Linked DNA regions of Homo sapiens: all the other regions are linked to region 4. Evidence: promoter capture Hi-C in 16 types of primary human blood cells and fetal thymus (Javierre and others, 2016). All regions are on one chromosome and are shown on one strand. The core of a region is centred on a gene start or on the middle of the fragment in contact, and the rest is flanking DNA. Distances in the headings are between cores, read along the strand shown.

Region 1 (3,097 bases), core at 275-2,774, 1.3 Mb before region 4:
TATTAAAAATAGAATCAATGAAATAAATACATAATGACCAGAAAACATTTTAGAGAAGAGAAGCACAGCTCCATTTATGTGTCGTCAAATCAATAGGCTTAAAAGATGTAAAACCCACCACACTTGATGAATAGCTTATAAATAAGTTTCCTCTTAGTGAACTAATCAGCAGTTTGAATCAACCAAATTTAGCATCACCTGAAGGAGAGGGCTAATTTTTAGCTAGAAACTTACAGGTTATATACAAGAAGAAAACGTGGCACTTGGAATAATCTTTTTTATTAATTGCTAAACATCTTCATTTCTAAGTCCTCATAGCAGCTATTTCAAAATTACCTTTAAAATGCTCCAGTTTGCTCTTCCTAGGTGATATCATTTAGTCCCACACTTTCAAATACCACCCATATGTATGCCGATGGCTCAAGTCTATTTCTGAACAAGATTTCTTACCTGAGCTTGAGTTTCCTGTACTCAACAGCACTTTGGACAATTGTAATTATTTGCCTCACGCTCACTGCATTCTCAACAAGGACGATGCAGAAATAGCACTTCTCCCAAATATGCTTTCCCTCGTCCTTAATGTGAATAACACAGTTCTTCCAGTTATTTAACTAGGAGTTCTCAGCATCATCCCCAATTCCTCCTTCTCTGTTAATCGATAACCCAGTCAAAGAGATTTTACCCCTCCCTACTATATTGGTTCCATCTCTTCCTTTCATGCTCTGAGTGAATCTGAGGAGCTCCTGGGGCAGATATTTGTCCTATCTCATCTCATCCTGGCTGTTACAATGGTCTTCGAAGCACCCTCATGTATAATTGTTTTTTCTTCCCTTCAATCTATTTTCCACATCGCCAACAATAAGTTTGTTTCAAAGACAGTCATTTGATTTCTCTTCTTAAAATTCCTTTCTCTGGGCAGCAGGATAAAATCTATCCTCCATGGAATGTCATTCCAAGCCATTTTGGATCTGATGTCTCCTGTAACTCTTACCTCAGTTCTTCGGATTCTCTTCTCATCTTTTAAACTCTTCTAGTACTAACCTTTCAGTTCCTTGAACATTCTGTACTCCCCCATGCCTTTGTGCCATTTTTCCTTCTATATTTTTGCCTAGAATGACCTCTACGTCCTCTCCATTTGGCCTTTTCAATTCACCATTGAAGACCTAGCTTAGCACAGCTTCTGCTATGAAAGCCTCCATGACCTCCCCAAGGAGGACAGACTCCTCAAGTGTCAAGGTGGTAGATGACAGTTTTCATTATTTAAAATTTACATTTCTTTAATAAATGCTAAGTTTAAATACTTTTATTCACTGTTGATTTCTCTGTAAGCTTAAAAAAGATGATTTTTTTTTTCTGTGTTCCTAGAAAATTATAAACTTCTGGAGATGAGTAACTGTGATCACTTCATCTCAGGCTGGAGTAACAGAGGCTTGATTTAGTGACAACTGATGGACAATGAGAGTTTCCAAACAAGAAGAAAAAATAAATAACTGGAAATCTTATTAGTATTAATGTATTAGCATTAGTATTAATGATGCAAGTATTAATTAATCCCACAAATACATTAAAATACTTACTACATATTTATCGTTATAATATGCATAACTCATTAAATCAATTATTTTATTTCTGTTTACCACTAAAGATTTTATTTCAGAAAATTTTTTTGCTGTTGTTTGCTTTATAGCACTCTCCCAAAGTGGTGCTATTTAAGCTTCTAGTAGATAGCTAATATCTATTCATTAAGCAGATCAGTCCCTTATAGTCCAGAATGTGTTTATCAAGATGACAGGAGCATTTCTGCGGAAAAGAAAACCATTTTCACATTTTTACTTGGAACCATATCACATATTGCTTGAGCCTTTGCTCCTATATTTTGTTATCAGACAACAGTCTCCAAAGATGGGCATTCCCACCTTTACATTTCTTTCTAGATGCCTTTATGAATTTATTAATGATTAATCAAACCATTTGTATGCATACACCACACCTTTTGCAATCACTTAGTTTGGAAATAACTTAGACTATCTCTTATAAATAAAACATGCAAAACAGACAAAATCAGTGCTTAACTTTTTTTTTTTTAATTTTACTTTACGTTCTAGGGTACATGTGCACAACGTGCAGGTTTGTTACATAGGTATACATGTGCCCTGTTGGTTTGCTGCACCCATCAACTCATCATTTACATTAGGTATTTCTCCTAATGCTATCCCTCCCCCAAACCCCCACCCTCCGACAGGCCCCAGTGTGTGATATTTCTCGCCCTGTGTCCATGTGTTCTCATTGTTCAATTCCCACCTATGAGTGAGAACATGTGATGTTTGGTTTTCTGCCCTTGTGATAGTTTGCTGAGAATGATGGTTTCCAGCTTCAACCGTGTCCCTGCAAAGGACATGAACTCATCCTTTTTTATGGCTGCATAGTGTTCCATGGTGTATATGTGCCTCATTTTCTTTTTTTTTAAATTATTATTATACTTTAAGTTTTAGGATACATGTGCACAATGTGCAGGTTAGTTACATATGTATACATGTGCCATGCTGGTGTGCTGCACCCTTTAACTCGTCATTTAGCATTAGGTATATCTCCTCATGCTATCCCTCCCCCCTCCCCCCACCCCACAACTGTCCCCAGAGTGTGATGTTCCCCTTCCTGTGTCCATGTGTTCTCATTGTTCAATTCCCACCTATGAGTGAGAATATGCGGTGTTTGGTTTTTTGTTCTTGTGATAGTTTACTGAGAATGATGATTTCCAATTTCATCCATGTCCCTACAAAGGACATGAACTCATCATTTTTTATGGCTGCATAGTATTCCATGGTGTATATGTGCCACATTTTCTTAATCCAGTCTATCATTGATGGGCATTTGGGTTGGTTCCAAGTCTTTGCTATTGTGAATACTGCCCCAATTAACATACATGTGCATGTATCCTTATAATAGCATGATTTTTAATCCTTTGGATATATACCCAGTAATGGGATTGCTGGGTCAAATGGTATTTCTAGTTTTAGATCCTTGAGGAATCACCGCACAACCAGTGTTTAACTTTTTAACTAGAGGCAAACTCATTGGCTGTGAAGCTAACAAGTAT
Region 2 (3,269 bases), core at 653-3,152, 1.9 Mb before region 4:
CTTTATTCTCTCATTTACATTAAAAAAACTAAAAAATATATATATATAAGTGCCCTTAAATCCTGTTTTGAAACAAGGAGGAATAAATTGGTCAATGCATGCAGCCTACCCAGCAGAACCTACCTAGCACACATTCATTATTTACTGAAGCACTAACTCTAACTCTGTACCAGGCACCATCCTTCCTTTAAGGAGCTGGCTACAGCATGCTGCTATCAATATTCATTTTCTCCCTTAGATTTGGCTAAAAACACAGTGACTCTCAGCTATACCTGAAAATGAGAATATTTTAAAGTGAGAACTGGGAGAAACCTAAAGCTACATTATGGCTATGAAAAGTAAAAACTCAGAAGATATGGGGAAAGAAAGAGCAAAGGGGAATGGAGCCAGACCACCCTGTAATCAAGAGAATGGCCCGTGGAGTCAGACACCCCTAGATCTTTGTTCTACCACTGTATTCGTTCGTTTTCACACTGCTATAAAGATACTACCCGAGACTGGGTAATTTATAAAGAGGCTTAATTGACTCACAGTTCTGCATGGCTGGGGAGGCCTCAGAAAACTTATAATCATGGCAGAAGGGGAAGCAGGCACATATTACGTGGCGGCAGGAGAAAAACAGAGTATGAATGAGGAACTGTCAAACACTTATAAAACCATCAGATCTCATGAGCACTCACTATCACCAGATCAGCATGGGGGAAACTGACCCCATGATCCAATCACCTTCCATGGGATCCCTCCCTCAACACGTGGGGACTACAGAAATTAAAATTTGAGATGAGATTCGAGTGGGACACAGAGCCAAACCAGATCAACCATCTACTAAGATAATTTGCCCCAAATGACACAACTCAGTTTCTCCATCTGTAAAACAGTAATCTCATGTATCTGTTGAAGAATTAACAGATAATAAGCTTTTGATATGGTGTAGGAACTATAAAAAGTGTGGAGGATTACTCATGAGAATCTGCTATACAGACCACAATGCCAAAAGCTAATGTGATGGAGAATTCCATACAAATTCAGTCTGGCTACACCTTAGGGATTAAATAAAATCCCCCAAAGCAGAAAACTTGGCAGCAGAAAAAGAAGAATCAATTTTAGAAAAATAAGCAAAAAAGGCCCATGGCTTACCAGCAGTGGAATGTTACAGTACTACCATCAATACAAACAATACTTTTTAAAAATACTGATGTCTGGGACTCCCCGGAGAGTGACTAAAACAGCATTTCCATGGATGAGAACCAAATATTAATAGTTTGAGTTAAGAAACACTGCAGAAATTAAAAGGGGGCTACTATGTGTGCATTACAGGAGAGAGAATCTAGAACCTTTTTGCCAGGGATCTCTTACTTACAAGTGAAAAGTAACAGCTAAAACTAGAGTATTTTAAAACTTGCAAATAATCAAGGCTAATGAAATCAAATGGGACAGTTTCTTTTAGAAAATGTAAAGTTAGGAGAGGGACAAGAGAGGTCTGCATATGGCTGCATCTTTTGTAGCAAAGGACACAGCCTCATAGACTAAAGTGAGCAGAGAATAACAAATGAAGTAAGCACAGCTGGGCCAGAAGGAAAGGGAAAAACAGCTGAGATGGCAAAATTAGGGTCTGCTCAAATAAAACATCAAACTGACTGGCTACTGCAAGAGGAGGAGAGCTGAAGAATTAAAATGAAGGAGGGAAGCAGTTGGGGAGATAAAAGAGAAACTTTCATGCTGGACAGGAATGGCATGGGACAGAAAGGACAGAACACCAATTGAGAAGATGAGTAGGGAGAGTCACCAGAGGAGTTTAAGAAAGGTAAAAAGGAATGAGAACAACAGGGACAATAGCCTCTATGATTCACTATAAAGTCTCAGGCACGGTATAAATATTAGGGGGAGGAAGTAGTAAATAAACTGGGTTAGAAAACAGACAGAAAAGAGCTAGTCAAAAATCCTGAAAGACTACCAATAATATATATAAAGCAAAAATTTGGAGGCCGAGGCAGGCGGATCACGAGGTCAGGAGATCGAGACTATCCTGGCTAACATGGTGAAACCCCGTCTCTACTAAAAACACAAAAAATTAGCCAGGCATGGTCATGGGCGCCTGTAGTCCCAGCTACTTGGGAGGCTGAGGCAGGAGAATGGTGTGAACCCGGGAGACGGAGCTTGCAGTGAGCCGAGATCGCGCCACTGCACTCTAGCCTGGGCGACAAAGCGAGACTTGTCTCAAAAAAAAAAAAAAAAATGAAGGTTAACAAAAGTATATCATCTAAATTGTAAATGATGTTAAAAGATATGTTTCAGCTCTCATTTGATAAATGAAACAGCTAAGCACATCTAAAAATGGGCAAAACTAAATAATACAGTTTAGGAATCCATAAGTGATACAACTATGAAGAAAAGCAGGGGAGGATTAATATAAAATTCAGGCCAGTGGAAAACTGGTTGAGAAAGAGACATATGTAAGAATGTGGAGTCCTTGGCCGGGCGTGGTGGCTCATGCCTGTAATCCCAGCATTTTGGGAGGCAGAGGCGGGCGGATCACGAGGTCAGGAGATCAAGACAATCCTGGCTAACACAGTGAAAGCCCGTCTTCACTAAAAATACAAAAAATTAGCCGGGCGTGGTGGCGGGCGCCTGTAGTCCCAGCTATTCGGGAGGCTGAGGCAGGAGAATGGCGTGAATCCAGGAGGCAGAAGTTGCAGTGAGCTGAGATTGCGCCACTGCACTCCAGCCTGGGTGACAGCGAGACTGTCTCAAGAAAAAAAAAAAAAGAAAAAGAATGTGGAGTCCTTTTGCATGGGTGTTTATCATTATTCTTTAAAACTATTAAACTGTGTATATGTATTTTATATATTCTTTTATATGCATGCTACATCTCAATAAAAAAGCTTTAATAGAATTTTTCTACCTCTGAACTTCCCAGGTTGTTTTTTGAAGGTAATTCTAACAAATCTGCTTATATAATAAAATAAAATGACTAGTACTTCTGGCCGCAGGTTTTGCAACATTCAGCTCCACCTCAAATCTAGTCAATCAAAATCTCTAGGGGTTGGGCTGCTGAATATTTTTTTTTTTAAACAAACACTCCAGTGATTCACAAGAATCTAAAGAAACTCAAATTTGAGTCTCCCACAGGAAGAGGTCTTCCTTCTGTTTTTCTCTAGAGCTATTGAGAATCTAATCCCCTTCCTTCCCCAATCCTTCCCCAAATCCTCTACAACTTTGCTCCTTACCTCCCCTTCTCTTGTATTTAACCTTTCAACCTCAAGTCTCTC
Region 3 (3,307 bases), core at 499-2,998, 1.7 Mb after region 4:
CAATTATCACTTGAGTGCTAGAACGCCTCTTGGAGCTACAATCTTTCAAGTGACTCCTTCTTTCCACATACCTTGGCATTTTCTCCCTCAAGTCTTAAATCCCTTTTTTGCAGTAGAAATGCTCCAGAGCTTTTAGTATTTCCCTCAGTGGTATACTGTGTATACTGCCACACTGAATGTGACCCTATATTATTCTCCAATATCCTTGGAAAATATTATTCCGTTTATTTTGAGAAATCTCAGACTTCCCAATGATGCTTTTAATATTGACATGATTACTATCCAACTCATCTTTTTGCTGCTGTCATAGTGTAGGTTGGGGTGGTTCTGTTTAACTTAAACCTTTATATTTCAACCCTGATGTTTATCTTTATCCCTGGGATGGGTTTTGAGAATTACTCTGTGACATTCACTTTTAGATATTTGAAAGCAGCTTTGCTTCATTGCAAAGTTACTCTCAAAAGCTGACAAGAAAGGCAATGCTAGTTCTTTAAGTTCTGGTGCTGTCAATACTCTAGGGATTGTTCTTTCACTGATTTGTATTTGTACTTGATTTTGTGCTGTGATTCTGGCAGGGAAATCACAGTGCTTTTGTTGTATGTGTATAATCTGGCAGTGCTTTTGTTGTATGTGTATAATCACATGCAAATTCTAGGGATGCCCTGAACTCTAAGTAAGCGGTAAAGGTCAGGCTCTACATGACTTGCTTAGCAATGGATGTTTAGAAGTTTGGTATACTTGCAGTTTTTCAGGTGGTTAATTCTAAAGTCCACTTAAAACCAATGCTGTTTTGCTATGAACAGTAAAACAGGCTACATTTTAAGTTGATTTATATAGATATTTTAACATTTAAGAACAATACTATACATCTTAATATTCACTTTTAAGATTAAAGATAAACTCATGAATACTTATAAAGTATTCACTATCATTCTAGCTAAGATCGGTGTTATAGTAGAAGGTAGTTATTTCTGTCAAAATACTTCGAGAGCCTACGCTGACTCAAAGATTACATGTTCTAGACTGACCATCTCCGGATAACCTCTATTTTAAGTGGACTCTGTCAAGCAATTCCTCTTCTTAAGCTCTGGTAGGAGAGCCAGGCTCGAGTACCCTTGGAAATGAGAGAAGCCTGGTTTGCTTTCTTTCATTATGAAAAACCCGGATCAAGGCATGTTTTTCAGCTGCTTCGAGGATGGTTTATTCTGGCAGGTGGAGGAGAGAAACTCTATACACACATAAGCATTTAGGGCACGACAAAGATGTCAACAGAATGAAGAGCCAAGTACAATTCTTCCCCTCACCGCCCAGTTCCCCGTCCTGCCGGGAAGAGCGCGGAGAAGCGACTTAAAGGTACAGGCTGTCTACACCCCCGCTGGCTAAAAAAGCTTGCAAATCAATCTTTTAAAATGGTTTATTGTGTTTTCCTCCATTCCTCAATAATCTGAGAGTGATGAGAAGACTAGACTGTTACTGTGGGTTTATTACAGCCAGCCATAGTCGTACAATGGGATATTTAATTTAAACACCCACAAGGCACTCAGCACAGCACACTGTCCTGTGCGGATTGCTGCTCGCCACTTCCAGGAATACCTTCCCACCCAGACCAAGGAAGGCAGCTCAGTCCAGCGCCTCCTGTCCCGCCCCGCCCCGCCCCAAGGGGAGGTGCCCAGCTCTCCCCGCCCCTCGCCCTCGCCCTCGCCCCGCCCCGTCGCGTAACCCGGATACACACCCACGCTCCCCTTTCACCTCGCGGCCGTAGGCTAACGTGGAAGTCGGACCAGCCGGCCGGCGGAAGAACCTAGAGCGCGCTGCCTGGCGAGTCAGGCGCGCGGGGCGGCGTTGGTGGTCTTCGCGGCGCAACTCGGCCTTTCCTGGGAGGGAGTGATGGGGCGCACCGGGGCCGGGGAGCGGGCGCCAGTGTAGCCCGCGCGGCGCCTGGCCCGGAGCGCGGCGGCTGCGGCGGCGGCGGCGGCGGGCGCTGGAGGCCTGTGAGAGCCGCAGCCCGGAGCGCCCGGCTTCCCACGCCATGGCCCCCATGGGCATCCGCCTTTCCCCACTGGGGGTGGCAGTGTTTTGCCTGCTGGGGCTCGGCGTGCTCTACCACCTCTACTCGGGCTTCTTGGCCGGCCGCTTCAGCCTCTTCGGCCTGGGCGGCGAGCCTGGCGGCGGCGCGGCGGGGCCCGCGGCCGCGGCCGATGGGGGCACCGTGGACTTGCGCGAGATGCTGGCTGTGTCAGTGCTGGCCGCAGTCCGCGGCGGCGACGAGGTGAGGCGCGTCCGCGAGAGCAACGTCCTCCACGAGAAGTCCAAGGGGAAGACGCGCGAGGGAGCCGAGGACAAGATGACCAGCGGCGACGTGCTGTCCAACCGCAAGATGTTCTACCTGCTCAAGACCGCCTTCCCCAGCGTCCAGGTGGGAGCCCACGGGCGGAGCGCCCACTCGAGCCGGGTAGCGCGTCTCGGCCCGTCGACTCTTAACAGTATGGGATGTGGAGCTTCTGGTTCCATTTTGTAGATGTGGAAATTGAGACGCAGAAGTTAACGTGCACAAGGTCAGACAGACAGCAGAGGAGCTGGGTGAGGTTGCACGTAGTCTGACTCAGGGCCCGTGCCCTTTTGGCTCGTCCTGGGTCGGGTGTGCGCCGTGTGTACCTGGGATCAGAAGGCCTTGAAACGAAAAGGCTGACAAAGTTAATTGCACCCGCAGCTTCAGGCTCCTCTGTAGAATTAAGGGGTTGGCTAAAATCCACCAAGACTCTCTATCCTTCCTTGATTTCATCCCTAGAAGGGTCGAAACTGGAGTACACATTTTCTGGGTGGCCTGCCAGTAGCCAGCTGAAAGACCGAGTCTTGTTGCAGAGCTGTTAGTGTGCGGGGCATTTGTGTGTGCGTGTGTGCGCTCGCGGGAGTCGGGGTGGGGGGGTGGGGGATGAGTATGCTCATTTCGCTGTCTTTTTGTCAGGACGCTCTAAAGTTTATAGTTTGCGGGCCCTTTAAGGAGGTACTTAGAAATATACCAGCTGTTGGTCCTACCTGGCCCTTGATTAAAGATCCATATTTACTCCAGAGAATAAGAATTAAATAACATTTGGCTTTTCTTTGGGTAGGTTTCTGGGAAGGGAGTTGACATTTTCTTAAGGAAATCCAGACATTTTGGATTTGTTATTAATACTTTTTGAATTCATCATTTCACTGGAGCTGCTATTGAGTTGAATAAAGCATATTTAAAATTTGCAGTTCCAGAAACTGCAAATTTTGTTGAGGAAGAGCTCAGCATAGCGTAGCAGCACCTTATTAACGTATA
Region 4 (3,079 bases), core at 150-2,649:
TGAAGTATAATAACATCAAGTTGTTTGAATTAAGGACAGAACATACTGGGTAGATACCTGCTCTTACACAAGGAACAATAGATAAAGTAGAAATCTTAGAGGCCTTCCCAGAACTGGGGTCAATCAGAAGTCAACACGGAGGATTAGCTTCCAAGATGGAGCTGCTTTCGCCTCCACATCCAGCAATTCCACTCTTAGATTCCAATTCCACTCAACAGAAATGGAAACATAGGTCCATAAAAAAACTGTACATGACTGTGTACAGCAGCCTTATTCACAATAGCCAAAATGTGGAAACAACTGAAATGTCCATCAACTGATGAATGGATAAACAAAATGCAACAGAATATGCTCCAGCAATCTAAAGGAACGAAGTACTGTACAGATACATGCTACAACATAGATGAACCTTGAAAGCATTACGCTAAATGAAAGAAGCCAGACACAAAAGGCCACATATTGTATGGCTCCATTTATATGAAATATCCAGAATAGGCAAACCCATAGAGACAGGAAATTGATTATTGTTTGCTAGGGCTGGGGTTTGGAGGGTAGAGTTAGGAAGAGTGACAGCTAGAGGGTATGGGTTTCTTTTACATGTGATGAAAATGTTCTCAAATTGTGGTGATTGTTGAACATATCTGGAAATATACTAAAAATCGCTGAATGGTATACTTTAAATGGTTGACTTGTTTGGTATGTGAGTTATATCCCAATAAAGCTGTTATATAAAAAAAAATCATGCGAGCAATTATCTCAACAATCAAGAGACTGTGTTAAAGATTCTTTGCTTGGCCAAACTTCAGTTAGGCTTCTGAATCTTCTCCCAGGTCCTTGTGTGCACTTCCTTGTAAATGCAGTGTTAGGAAGTAACACTGCCACGGCAGTTTAGCAAGAATCCCCCACCCTCCATATGTGATCAAAATTCTTTACTCCTACCCTTAGTATCTGACCCCCTGGCCTGCCTTCACTGGGACTCCTGTTAGGTTGGTTCAGCCAGAATTTCCCCCAGAATTGATGTTTCCTCTTAGCAGTTTTCCGAACACCTGCTCCTTGCTCCTTGGCTATAAATCTCCACTTATTCCTGGTGTATTTGGAATAGTTACGACTGAGTTGCCTTCACCCCTTTAACTTCCGTCTTTTTTTTTTTTTCACAATGGAGGACACAAAACGTTGTTATTTCAAGTCTTTGTGGCCAACAGATTGGTGGTTTATGGGCCAGCATCCCTTTTTATGCGTAAAATATTTAAAACGCAGCCTGCAATGGTTGGTAAAGTGGTGAAACGTTTAGTGTGTGAGGTCGGATCCTGGTCTGGCCGCTGGCCCTGGCGATCCTCTGAGGCGGCCTGAGTTTGGGGCGCCTCGTGTCACCGCGCGCCCCTCCTCCGGGCCTGAGTCACGGTGCCGCCGGAGTCCCCACGCGAGGATGCTGCGGTGAGCGCGGCCGGGACGCCGCGTCGGGCTCTCGGCCGCCCAGCGGCGCCGCAGGGGAAGCCAGGCCGGCAGCCGCGCGCTCCCCAGCCGGCCACCAATCCCGCCCTCCCCGGCTCCTCCGGACCTCCTCGGCAGGCGGCGGCGGGGCCTGCCTGTGCGCTCTGCGCCCGCCCGCGCCTACCCTCCATGGCGTTTATCCGGAAGAAGCAGCAGGAGCAGCAGCTGCAGCTCTACTCCAAGGAGAGGTGCGCGCCCAGCTGAAGAAGGGCCCAGCCGGGGGCCTAGTCGGGGCCGGTCGTGGGGACGCCGGCCGGAGATCTGAGGGACGGGAGGCGGCGTGGGGGCCGGGCACGGAGGCAGGGGCCGGACGCGTGTCCAGGGCCTGGGCTGGGGGCTGTGGCGGAAACCTGAGGTCGGGGTGAGAGGCCGGGGGCCTGGTCTGGGCCGGAGCCTGCCGGGGACAGGAACTGGATGACGGGCCAGGCCAGATTCCACCGCGGAGCCGAGGCATGCCGAGCTATCCGGCAGTGCAGGTCCCGGCGGCCGCGGGCAGCTCACCCGGAAGGCCGCGCGGGGTCCGGGCGTGGATCCCGGCACGCGAGCCCGGGCGTTCGCAGGGGAGGGTGAGTACGCTGCCCGGCGGGCACCCCCTTTCTAATCCTTCCCCTTAATCGGGTCCAGGCACTCGGCGCCGGCGCCGCAGAGTTGGTCGCCGGGCGGCACCGAGCAGGCCGGCGACCACCCACTCGCATTGCCGCGCCTTTTTCCTGCCGACTCCTTTAGACACAGGACTAGCTCCATGCCCTGGAAGGCTGGGAGGGGGGCCGCCGGAAAGGCCTGATTCTGAGGAAAGCCAAGGTCCTGCCTCCCAAACACTTGCTCCCCGCGCAGTGGACCTTGTGTTGGAAAGCTTTGCAGTCGAAATCGCGGTGCGGCAGCGGAGCACTCATTCTCACCAGCATCCCAGTAAGGATTTGGGATCCCTTGAGCTAAAATGGTCTCACAGCAGTTCCCTTTCAGATATGCTGGACCTGTCCCCAAGGGAAGTCTCATAAGAAAGCTCACTTCGGCTCTATGTATAGTTCCCAGGGCATTTTTGGTGACAGAAACAACTTGCTCGGTCTGCAGCTCAGATGCCAAAAGGAAAGGGGGGCTGAATCATTTTACAGACACACTGTTTTGATTGTGAGAGCCACAGATCTTCCAGTGCTGCTAGCCTGTCACGTTGTCTCATCAGTGAATACCAGCAAAGCAGGTTACACGTGGGAATACAAGTGCAGACTTCAAGATTTGTCTACACTTGTTTTATAAGGGTTGACTCGACCCCTTTGATCCAGACATTCATCTTTCTCTAATCTGTAATGTTGGTCTAACCAGTGTGTCCACAGTACGAAATGTCATTTTTCTACTGTAGAGAAGAAGATACGATACACAGAAAACGTATCTCAGATATGGCTTTCAAAAATGTTTTTGGTGATGTGATTAGGTTTTAGTCACAGAAAGGGTTGTTTATTAAATAACTGAGCCCTAACTATGTAACTCACACTTGGGGATGCCCTTCTGACTGAATTTGTAATGCATTTTTCTTGTGGAAAGAGCTTGAGTGGAGATTCTTTGTTTAGTACCAACAATATTAAGACTTGTT
Region 5 (3,070 bases), core at 428-2,927, 1.4 Mb before region 4:
GCTGTAACGGTTGGTGCTCTATTAATTTGCTCTTTCTACTCTTCTGGGAACACCCACTCATGTGCCTGTCAGAAGCTGGGTCACCCTTCTGGGCTGAGTTCATATGACATGTGCCCTGGAACCTTCCAATCTGTGCTCCTGTGGCATTTTGGACTTTGCTCACTAAAGTGCTGGTTACAAGGTTTTGCAATTAACCAGATATGGACCCTGAGCTCTATAAGAGCCCACATCTCCATGTGATTTGTTGTATGCTCCGTGACTTTCTCTTGAAGGAATGAATTGGATTTTGCTTTGGTTTGAGCAAGTAGGGAAGTCAAGAAGGAATGGACTTAAAACTTCAGAAGGGCCCAGACTGAGAAAACATTTGACAGTGGAGAGCTTACTTCCGGTTTATACTGAAGTAAGTAGCAGAATGGGAAGAGAAAAAAGAGCAGGATATTTCTAGGAAAGCTTTTTAAAATCCTTCTGTTCCTTATATCATAGATTTTTTCCCACAGACTTAGCAAATATTCACCATGTGCCCACAACGAGCCAGGGACTGTGGAAGGTTCTGGAAATGCATTGATGAACAAGATAGCCAAGATCCCTGACCATATTCAATCAGTCTTTTGCCCTGCTCTACACATAGATGTATTGTATCCTCTTGTAATCTGGTTCGACGCTAGGCATATTTCTCCAGATTTAAGTAAATAAAACTGCAACATGACTGAATCTTTCATTTGGTCTTTGGCGCCTGCAGCAGAATCTCTTGGTGGCATTAGCCCAAAGGGTCAGCTAATCTGAGTTTTTCATGTCACCAGGTTGGGAATCATTATGGTTTGATAGATGTTAACTTGTCCACATTATTCTCTTCCAAAATAGAAGCAGAGTAAGAAATAATTACTTTCTCTTTGAAAACCATGGAAGCTTGAGAACTAACATGCCCATTAAAATAATTGTAGAATACTTGCTTCTATTATCTAGTAGTTATTTGTTTGCAGCTTGGCATCCTGGGTTTGTGTTCTTCAGAGATTCAGGATGTTCTTTAATGATTAGGACTCACTGTGTTTATGATACATATTCACTCACATTTTTCAAAATTGATGTGGGCATGAATTGGGCTGGATTTAGTCTCCTTTTTCTTTCCAGGTGAGCTTAAAAATCCAAAGCGGGGGGAAACCTCTTAACAGAGCAGAAGCCTTGGATGCATTGTCCCTGCTCCCCCCACCCCACCCGTATTCATTTCTAACTAACGCTTTTCATCTCAGAGGGTACATGAATATGTAAGTGCAAGTGCGGCTTATTGTGAACTCCGAACAAAGAGTAGTGCTGTAGATTTCAATGTGTTTGGACCATAATGTGCTGCTTTCTTGATAATGGGCTCTCTTGGCATTGAAATGAAAAGCAAACATATCATTAAGAAGGCGCTCCATAAAAACTGTCTGTCATATATCTTAAGCTTCATTAGTTTAGATTAATGACTTACTTGATATACATGACAATAGGTGAAGCAAATCTTTGTTTATTTATTGACAATTAAATGTGGCTCTGACACGCATAAACAGGCTTCTCTCTGATTAGTTCCATGTTTTAAAGTAACTTTGTGTTATAAAACTTGTTAACTACAGTATCATTTTATTGAGCTCTGCTCGGTGAATGATGTGATCTACATTGAAAGGCATCAATATTGCAGCCATTCCTGGCAGTCACTGGAGCATTGTGCTCACAGATTGGAGTTGATATCTCATTGTACAAATTCAGGGACCCAGAAAATGTCCAGTTATTGAGCCTCTGCCCTGCGAGGACAATGTTCTATTCATGGAATCTGGGTCCAAGGTCACAGACTGAAACCTGAACGAAGGGTAAGATTCAAATTCGTTTCATGATTTTGCCGAGGACCTCCCTGAAATTCAGTGTTTTGAAAGCATGAAGCTTTTCCCAGAGTATCCTGTTAATGCAATGCAAAGAAGCATATACATAAATATAGTGCGTTCTAATTAGGAGGCCGCTAGAGGACCAAACAAGCTTACCTTTAAAAATAGATCTTGATAGGTCTGATATTATATTGATTCAGATGACATAAGAAAACTTCCAAGAACACTTCATAATAAACACACCATTTTAGAAGAGGCTGGGAAACCAGGGAGAGGAAAAGAGGAGGAAAAGGGTAGAAGGGCAATGTGGCATTAAATGTATCTGCATGCTTGGCTCACTGAAATATTCGTGGTTTGCCTTTCCAGGAATTCAAAGTTGGAGGCTGTCAGGGATAATCAGTCCTTCCCATCACAGACACCCCATGGTTCTCCTTAATAGCTCCCTTTTATGTGCCGTCAGTCCTCAAAAATATATTTAGAAAAGACTTATTTAGAAGGAGGCATAAAATAAAATCCATGTTGCAGTTGAATATTACAAATGATACTGGGGCTCCATTCTGTGCTATTAGGCTCCCTGTAGAATTTCCATACAAAGTAAAAAATAAACTCCTAGCCAGGTCGAAGGAGAACTCTTTGGTAAAAGAAACCATCTTCTTCTACACAACCACTCACGACATCGTGGGAAGGCAGATCTCCCCAGACACTGGAATTCAGTAAAACATCTTTGCTTTCCTTAGGAAATATTAGGGAAAAAAATGCACACCTACTTATCTTTTCTATGGAATATCCTGGGACAAAGTTTGAATGCAAAGAAAAGGATAATGTTAATATAAGCATTATCCAATTTTACCTACAGCCCTTGAGGTAGCCTGTCCCTAGAAGATGACTTTGCAATGATTTTGCTCTTAATTGTGGTGTTAGCACTTCATTTGGTTAATATGGAAAAATCCATCGTTATACTATTGAAGAGTAACCACTCTGCTCCTTAAATTACTTTCTCCCTTCTTTTCATTATGAGCCATTCTTCCCCTTCTCACACCACCCCCTCTCCCTTAGCCTCAGTCCAGATTACAGCCTCATCAACAGCCACCTTAGCCTGGGACCATTGGTCTGGTGTGTGCAAAACCAGAGGACAGGGTCTTCAGAGGGCAGTGTGGGGCAGCAATAAAAAAAGTTGCTCTCATTTCATACTCTTCTACAAAATTTGCCCTTTTGAA
Region 6 (3,108 bases), core at 300-2,799, 1.8 Mb before region 4:
TATAAAGAAGTTTGTTGTGGTTTTGGTTTTATATACTGCTAGAAATATTTTATTTTATTTTATTTTATTTTTGAGATGGAGTCTCACTCTGTCACTCAGTCTGGAGTGCAGTGGTGCAATCTTGGCTCACTGTAACCTCTGCCTCCCAGGTTCAAGCGATTCTGCCTCAGCCTCCCGAGTAGCTGGAATTACAGGCAAGTGCCACTACGCCTGGCTAATCTTTTTGTCTTTTTAGTAGAGGTGGGTTGTCACCATGTTGGCCAGGCTGGTCTCAAACTCCTGACCTCAAGTGGTCTGCCTGCCTCAGACTCCCAAAGTGCTGGGATTACAGGTGTGAGCCACTGTGCCCGGCCTGCTAAGAATATTTTAAATAAGGAACTGACAAATAATTATTTTAGGCCAGTGCTGTGGCTCAAGTCTGTAATCCCAGCTACACAGGAGGACTGCTGGAGGCCAGGAATCCCAGACCAGCCTGAGCAACATAGCAAGACCCCATCTATAAAAAAAATAAAAATAAATTAGCCAGGCATGGTGGCATGCAGCCTTAGCTACTTGGAAGGATCACTTGAGCCCAGGGGTTTGAGGCTACAGTGAGCTATGATTGTGTCACTGCATTGTAGCTGGGGTGACAGAGTGAGACCCTGTCTCTAAACAACAACAACAACAATAATTGTATGGTCATTAGCAAGCAGTGAGTTTTTGATTAAAAAAAGAAAAAAATAATTGTGTAGTCAGAAAAGGAAGATCAAGCATATTTTTTCAGTTTTAAAAAAAGTTATATGCAAAGCAATTGTTTTAAGGCTAGAATACAATGACAAAGTAGATCCTAAAAAGGATTTTTTTTTTTTTAAGAATACTTGCTGTTTGTTTCCATTCCACGTCCTTAGGGATTTACGTGAACAACAGAGTAAACCGTTTATTTATACTTTTTCATGAACTTTGAATCATTTTTTAGAAACTGAATGTTTTCCTGCCTGTGAAAACTCTTATATCCAAATACTACAGCAGCTATTATCATTATGAATAACATTGTATATTATGCATCATTTTGCATTTTAAGTTAAGTTTAACAAAAGTTACACTAAATGGGGGTGGTGAAAGTACTGCCATTAGCCAAGCAAGTTTAAGGTACAAACCAGGAGGGAAGCTTCACTATCATTTGATTCCCCAAAAGTACCTTTTCTGATACTACAGTTTAGTAATCTTTATTAGAAGAACTGCAGCCTTATGTAATTTTGAAATCTTATCTTGAAGTTTTCATTACCAGACTTACTGAAGAACATTTTTTGCTCTTAGTATATGGGTATTTTAATTTTCTTGATACTGTATCTGATACAAATTATAATACGAAAGTGTCCGTTTGAAAGAGCAGAGTATTCAGCATTGACACACTATACTTTTTGTTGATTTTTCCTTTAGAAAAATCAATTATAGACAAAAACCTCTTTAGAACTAGATCCTTCTTCCTCTCCTTGAATTAACTGCATGCATTTCTGAAAGGTTCTTCTTTCACTTTACCTCAAAAGACACTGAATCCAAACACCAGTGGTGAGATTGTCTGATCTGAACTCTGAGATAAGCTATTTTGCTTTAAAAAAACAAAAAACAGACAGGTTATTGAATTACTAATTGAAATACAAAAACTAAATTACTTACCTTTCCTTTCTTGGAAACAAGCAGAGATGAGGAAGTATACGTGTAACATGGTTTGTTATAAGTGACCCAGTAGATAGGAAATTGAAAGTGGACTCAGTTTACAGGGATCCTTCAAGTAGTGTTAATTCACTCAAGAAAATTTTAAAGTTATTTAAGTAAATAACAATTTAATGATTTATTTAATGTAATCATATGAAAAAGAACATTTGAGACCTGTCATTCAGATGCCAGGCCCTTTGCCAAGTGCTATAGATAAAGAGAGAGGTAGACTTACCATGAACCTAATGAAGCTTAATTTCAGGGCCCCTAATTTGCAGAAACATCTTTTAATGCAAATGTGTTCACATGATCAGTTTTCTATTTTTGCAAATAAAAAGTTGCTAAAGTAAGATATTTAAACCTTAATCAGTGAATTCTATTGTCTCTCTTTAGTCTTCACTTCCATCTGTGACACTTGCCCTTGTGTTGAGAGGTGTTAGAGAATATTCACAGATCTTTTTTTTTGGTACTGGTTAAGGAAGAGTATTGTTGAAGATACACTTAGTTTTGTAAGATATATTAATTTGATCACTTGCACGTGTAGTTGAATTATTGCAAAGAATTGTCCAGTATAGAAATGGCTTCCAGAGACACTGCAATCTCTACTGTGCTGATTCACACTGCATCATATGATATAGAGGTTGTATCTTAATTTAGCATGGTCCTACTGGATTTGCTTTTTATTACTAAATTACTAAATAACCTTAGAGACTAAAGACAATACAGCATTGTGAGATAATTAGGGGGTATTGTCTTTAGCCTCTAGGGTTGTGGTAAATCTGGGCATCGTCTCACTGGATTCTCGACTCAGGATCTCATAAGGCTAAACTCAAGGTGTTGGCTTGGTTGCATCCTCATCTGGCATTCAGAGTTCCTTTCCAAGCTTACATAGTGTGGCCAGATTCATCTCCTTGTAGTCATTATTTCCTTGTTGGCTCTTACCTGGGAGCTGCTCTCAGCAACTAGAGGCCACTTGAACGACTTACCACGTGACCTACTCTATTTCCAGAGCTGGCAATAGAGAATCTCTCTCATTTTTAATCCTTCATGCTTTGAATCTCTTTGTCAGGAAGGGTGCTGTTCCCTTTAAGGACTCAACTGATAAGATCTGGCCCATCCAGGATCATCTTTCTATCTTAAGGCCAACTGATTTGGAACATTATTCACATCTACAAAATCCCTTCACAGCAGCACCTAAATTAGTGTTTCAACAACTGGAAAAGCATATGTGTATGCCAGGGTGCAAAAATCTTGGGAGTCATCTTATATTTCTACCTACCACACCTGCTGTGCCCAGCATGGAAAGTATATGGGTTAATGAGTTTTACCTATTATAAAGCTTTTCAACTCAGAATGTATATTTTCAAAGACCTGGAAGGAACATTCAAACATAAAGGAAATGAAAACATTTTC
Region 7 (3,275 bases), core at 536-3,035, 2.0 Mb before region 4:
TAGAGAATCAGAGTTGTGAAAAGGTAATTTATTTCCTTTTTAGATTTCTTTATACTTCTTGTATTATATATGAGAGATATATATGGTTATTATGGTGATTTCCATGAAAACCAAATGTCTCCAAGTCCACAGTAGAATGTGTACAACAGTATCCGTAACTACTATTTGACCAGTGTCTTAAGGTTTACGGCACACATTATTCTCATTTGATACTTGTATCAGTACTGCGAGGTGGTCAAGATGGCAAATAGTTGCCCAATTTGTAAATGTAGAAACTAAGTCTCAGACATAACTCGAAGAAGGTATAAAGCTCGCTGACTTAGTCCTCAGTCTTTTAGTCCCACATCTCACCCTCTTTCCACTCTCCCTTTCTCTAGTCATCATATCTGCTTATCTCTACTAGGCTGGCAGTGTCTTTTCAATGCCCAATTAACTGGAAATTTCTGCTAAACCAACAAATGCAGCAAACAGCACTCTTAGATCTCATTTTAAATATGTTTATTTCAAGTAGTCACCTAATCAGGTTTGGCATGCTTATAAATAAGCCTGAAATGTACTGTATTTCCATTATAGATATACTCTTAAAACTAGCTATTAAAAATGTTTCATTATAAACACTTTAAAAAAATCCTTTACCATTCCATCAAGTTTGGAAATAAGATTTTTCAACAGGTTTAAAAAGTGAAAAATGCAGTTAGCTAGAATGTAAGTGAAGTGTAATTTTAGGACTTTTACCAAATTAGAGTGTCTAAAATGTTTTCTAAACTCAAAATTATTCAAGCCTACCTCCAAAAGAAAAGCCATTTCTCCAGCATTTATTATTCTCTTATCATTTGTTTATAATAGCTATTTGACAGGTCCTATAAACAGATAAGATTCATGTTTGAATAATATTTTTCTGTAGAAACAGTAAATAACTATAATGCCTATTTCTTCTGCTTGAAATATTGTTTTCATTAGATAAATTGAGCGGCATAAGAGCTTATGTTAATTATAGCACAGAGCATAGAAACAAATTTTTCTAACTAAAAGTGCATTATTACTTTACTTCTATATTTCATTTATTTTTTGCTTATTTTATTAAACTCTCCCCACTTATTTTTTATTTTTTATTATTTACTAAGTTCTGCTCCCTTCCACAAAAGTGTAACAAAGTAAACAGCCTAGTAGTACAGTAATGAAAAAACCAACAAGGATCTCCTTCAGAGTTAGGCTGAAGGGAAACAATTCGCAGTAGTTAAGATTTATTCCCCTATCCTCCCCTCTAAATATTACATAGCTCAACAAAGAATTCTTGTTTAACTTTATTGGAAAGTGTGTAGCAGAACCATGTTTAGAAATACTACAGATCCAAAGGCACATATGTTATCATTGCTAGCTAGGAGGGAGCACTGGGAAAATGAGAATTCCAATTTGTTACACTGACGTCTCATATAAACAATAGAAATATTAACAGTACCAGGATTTTTTTAAAAAAGCCAGTAACAAAGCAATTTCTTAACCTATCGATAATTACTAGCCTACAAATTAATAATAAGCCCAGCTTACTGCTCTTTTCTTCTGGTCCTTCCTTTAATGATTATTGGGGCATGAGTTTCAGCTGTTTTAAAGTTTCAGCATCTGAGTTTAAAGTGAACATTTCTGCCCATGTGCATTGAACATCGAGCCACTGTTCCTGATTTCATTTCACAAACCACACACACTTTCTGCTAAAAGAGATTTGTAATTGTTTGTGGTGTAAAACGTCATTATCAGTTTTAAATTTATATAATTTAAAAAAATGCTATTCTTATAAAGTGGAAAATTTTAAAACTGAAAAATACAGCAATATAAAATGAATCAATCAGCAAAGATCTCAGGCTACTTGTTTGGTTTTCTGCGCCCATCACTGTGTATCCTAAAAGGGTTATTGGGCTCTGCCAGTATTGTCAGGACCGTCCTAGGAAACCGGAACAATGCAGCCCATGCTCCAAAGGGCTGGCGTGGGACGCGCCCCAGGTCGGACCGCAGCCCACGGCAGTGCAAGGCTACCGGTGCGCGGCAAAGGAAGGGGTTCCACGGGCGCCCTTAACGCTCACGCTGGGGAAGGAGGTGCAGGAAACGAAAGAAGCAGGGAGGAGACGGAGAAGTGCTGCAGCAGCTTGAGTCGGCAAGTTGAGAGAAGTGAAAGCAGTCCAGGTTAGGCGGAACGCGAAGAAGGGCTGGAGGAGCGGCCCAAGGTAAAAGATCCAGCCGCAGACGAAAGCGGTAACTGGATTAGGAGGGCCCTATTAAGCGAATTTAAGGAGATAGGACTTTATCCCGAGAGCAACAGAGAGCCCATAAAAGATCGTAAACAGGAGTGACACGAACAGATTTACATTAAAATAAAGCATCTGACTGGCTGTGCTGTCGAGACAGGGGAGGGGCAAGGGCGGAGGCGGAGAGAGCGGTGAGCGGTCGCCGGAGGTCCAGGTGGGAGACGCCGCGCCCCGCACCGAGGTATGAGAGCTGCAGCAGCGACAACCAGGCGGCCTGAAGTGCAGACGCAAAACGGATCCCGGGGCTAGGTGAATTGGGGTAGGGGGATAATGACCAGATTGTAGTGTTGTCTTTGCTGAGACAGGAAACACGCGAGGCTTGTAGGGAAGGTGCCCAGCTCCGCTGAGAACACCTAGATTTTGAGATTTCTGTGGCACCCAAGTTAAATATGCCTGGACTTCAGGACACGGGGGTTCCGAAAGCAGGATGACGCGCCCGGAGGGGACGAGACGGTCCAGAGCACGCCCGGGAGAGAGGGCGGCCCAGACGGCACCGGCCTGCGCTCCAGCCCTCCCTCCCTCACACACGCGGAATCTCAAAACATGCGGTGAGACAGGTGGGGTATTCATTGGTCTAATTCTGCAGGTAGGGAAAATGAGAGCTTGGGGTAGGGGCTTATGCATGACCACCTGGCAGTGAATCTCCCAGCCAATACAAGCCTCACTCTACCCTCCTACAAATTAATTCAATGCATCCGATTGTTGAAACACATTCGTTCTCAAATTTTTAATAGAGTGCATTGCAGAAATGGCTTTTGCTTTATAAATGCCTTTTGTTCCTCTTTCTCCCAACCCTATGATAAAATATCAAGTGACCAACTTTCAATTTTAATAAATATCACCAGGCATCAGAAACATGTAAGCACTTTTCTCTTAAACCGAACGGAGGAAAATCTTAGAACGTGTGTCCACCAGTCAGTGAATAACTTCTCTAAGTTCTCTGTCCTGCATAAATAAACCTTGACAGCTCTGGCA

What was found. Contacts are between HindIII fragments. The CHiCAGO score rates a contact against its expected background, and 5 or more counts as called.
Region 1: a fragment that was not itself captured here is called in contact with the fragment with the promoter of NSMAF in region 4 in 1 of 17 cell types (total B cells); the score reaches 5.8 in total B cells.
Region 2: a fragment that was not itself captured here is called in contact with the fragment with the promoter of NSMAF in region 4 in 1 of 17 cell types (M0 macrophages); the score reaches 9.1 in M0 macrophages.
Region 3: a contact is called between the fragment with the promoter of BPNT2 here and the fragment with the promoter of NSMAF in region 4, in 1 of 17 cell types (naive CD8 T cells). The highest score is 5.8, in naive CD8 T cells.
Region 5: a fragment that was not itself captured here is called in contact with the fragment with the promoter of NSMAF in region 4 in 1 of 17 cell types (naive B cells); the score reaches 6.9 in naive B cells.
Region 6: a fragment that was not itself captured here is called in contact with the fragment with the promoter of NSMAF in region 4 in 2 of 17 cell types (M0 macrophages and activated CD4 T cells); the score reaches 7.3 in M0 macrophages.
Region 7: a fragment that was not itself captured here is called in contact with the fragment with the promoter of NSMAF in region 4 in 2 of 17 cell types (fetal thymus and non-activated CD4 T cells); the score reaches 6.4 in fetal thymus.

What each region holds. Positions count from the first base shown.
Region 1 is chr8:59,955,033-59,958,129 of GRCh38, reverse strand. No RefSeq gene overlaps it. Among named protein-coding and RNA genes, the nearest start is that of CA8, 320 kb to the left of the region's middle. The HindIII fragment of the contact is 385 bases long and covers 1,332-1,716 here.
Region 2 is chr8:60,522,660-60,525,928 of GRCh38, reverse strand. The region is part of intron 1 of RAB2A (RAB2A, member RAS oncogene family); the gene reads right to left. Among named protein-coding and RNA genes, the nearest start is that of RAB2A, 7.3 kb to the right of the region's middle. The HindIII fragment of the contact is 1,965 bases long and covers 920-2,884 here.
Region 3 is chr8:56,992,308-56,995,614 of GRCh38, reverse strand. It overlaps BPNT2 (3'(2'), 5'-bisphosphate nucleotidase 2), which reads left to right and starts at 1,748. Exons shown (of 5, transcript NM_017813.5): 1 at 1,748-2,416. The coding sequence starts at 2,030. RefSeq lists a silencer at 1,632-2,191. The HindIII fragment of the contact is 2,693 bases long and covers 1,391-3,307 here.
Region 4 is chr8:58,658,173-58,661,251 of GRCh38, reverse strand. NSMAF (neutral sphingomyelinase activation associated factor) reads left to right here and starts at 1,399. Exons shown (of 31, transcript NM_003580.4): 1 at 1,399-1,679. The coding sequence starts at 1,621. RefSeq lists silencers at 1,322-1,661, 1,672-2,121 and enhancers at 1,833-2,395, 2,572-2,861, 2,396-2,959. The HindIII fragment of the contact is 3,520 bases long and covers 1-2,346 here.
Region 5 is chr8:60,058,645-60,061,714 of GRCh38, reverse strand. All of the region lies in intron 2 of LOC105375861 (a long non-coding RNA gene), which reads right to left. Among named protein-coding and RNA genes, the nearest start is that of CA8, 220 kb to the left of the region's middle. The HindIII fragment of the contact is 473 bases long and covers 1,441-1,913 here.
Region 6 is chr8:60,505,176-60,508,283 of GRCh38, reverse strand. All of the region lies in intron 1 of LOC124901949 (a long non-coding RNA gene), which reads right to left. Among named protein-coding and RNA genes, the nearest start is that of RAB2A, 10 kb to the left of the region's middle. The HindIII fragment of the contact is 799 bases long and covers 1,150-1,948 here.
Region 7 is chr8:60,652,728-60,656,002 of GRCh38, reverse strand. No RefSeq gene overlaps it. Among named protein-coding and RNA genes, the nearest start is that of CHD7, 24 kb to the left of the region's middle. RefSeq lists an enhancer at 2,077-2,276. The HindIII fragment of the contact is 5,465 bases long and covers 1-3,275 here.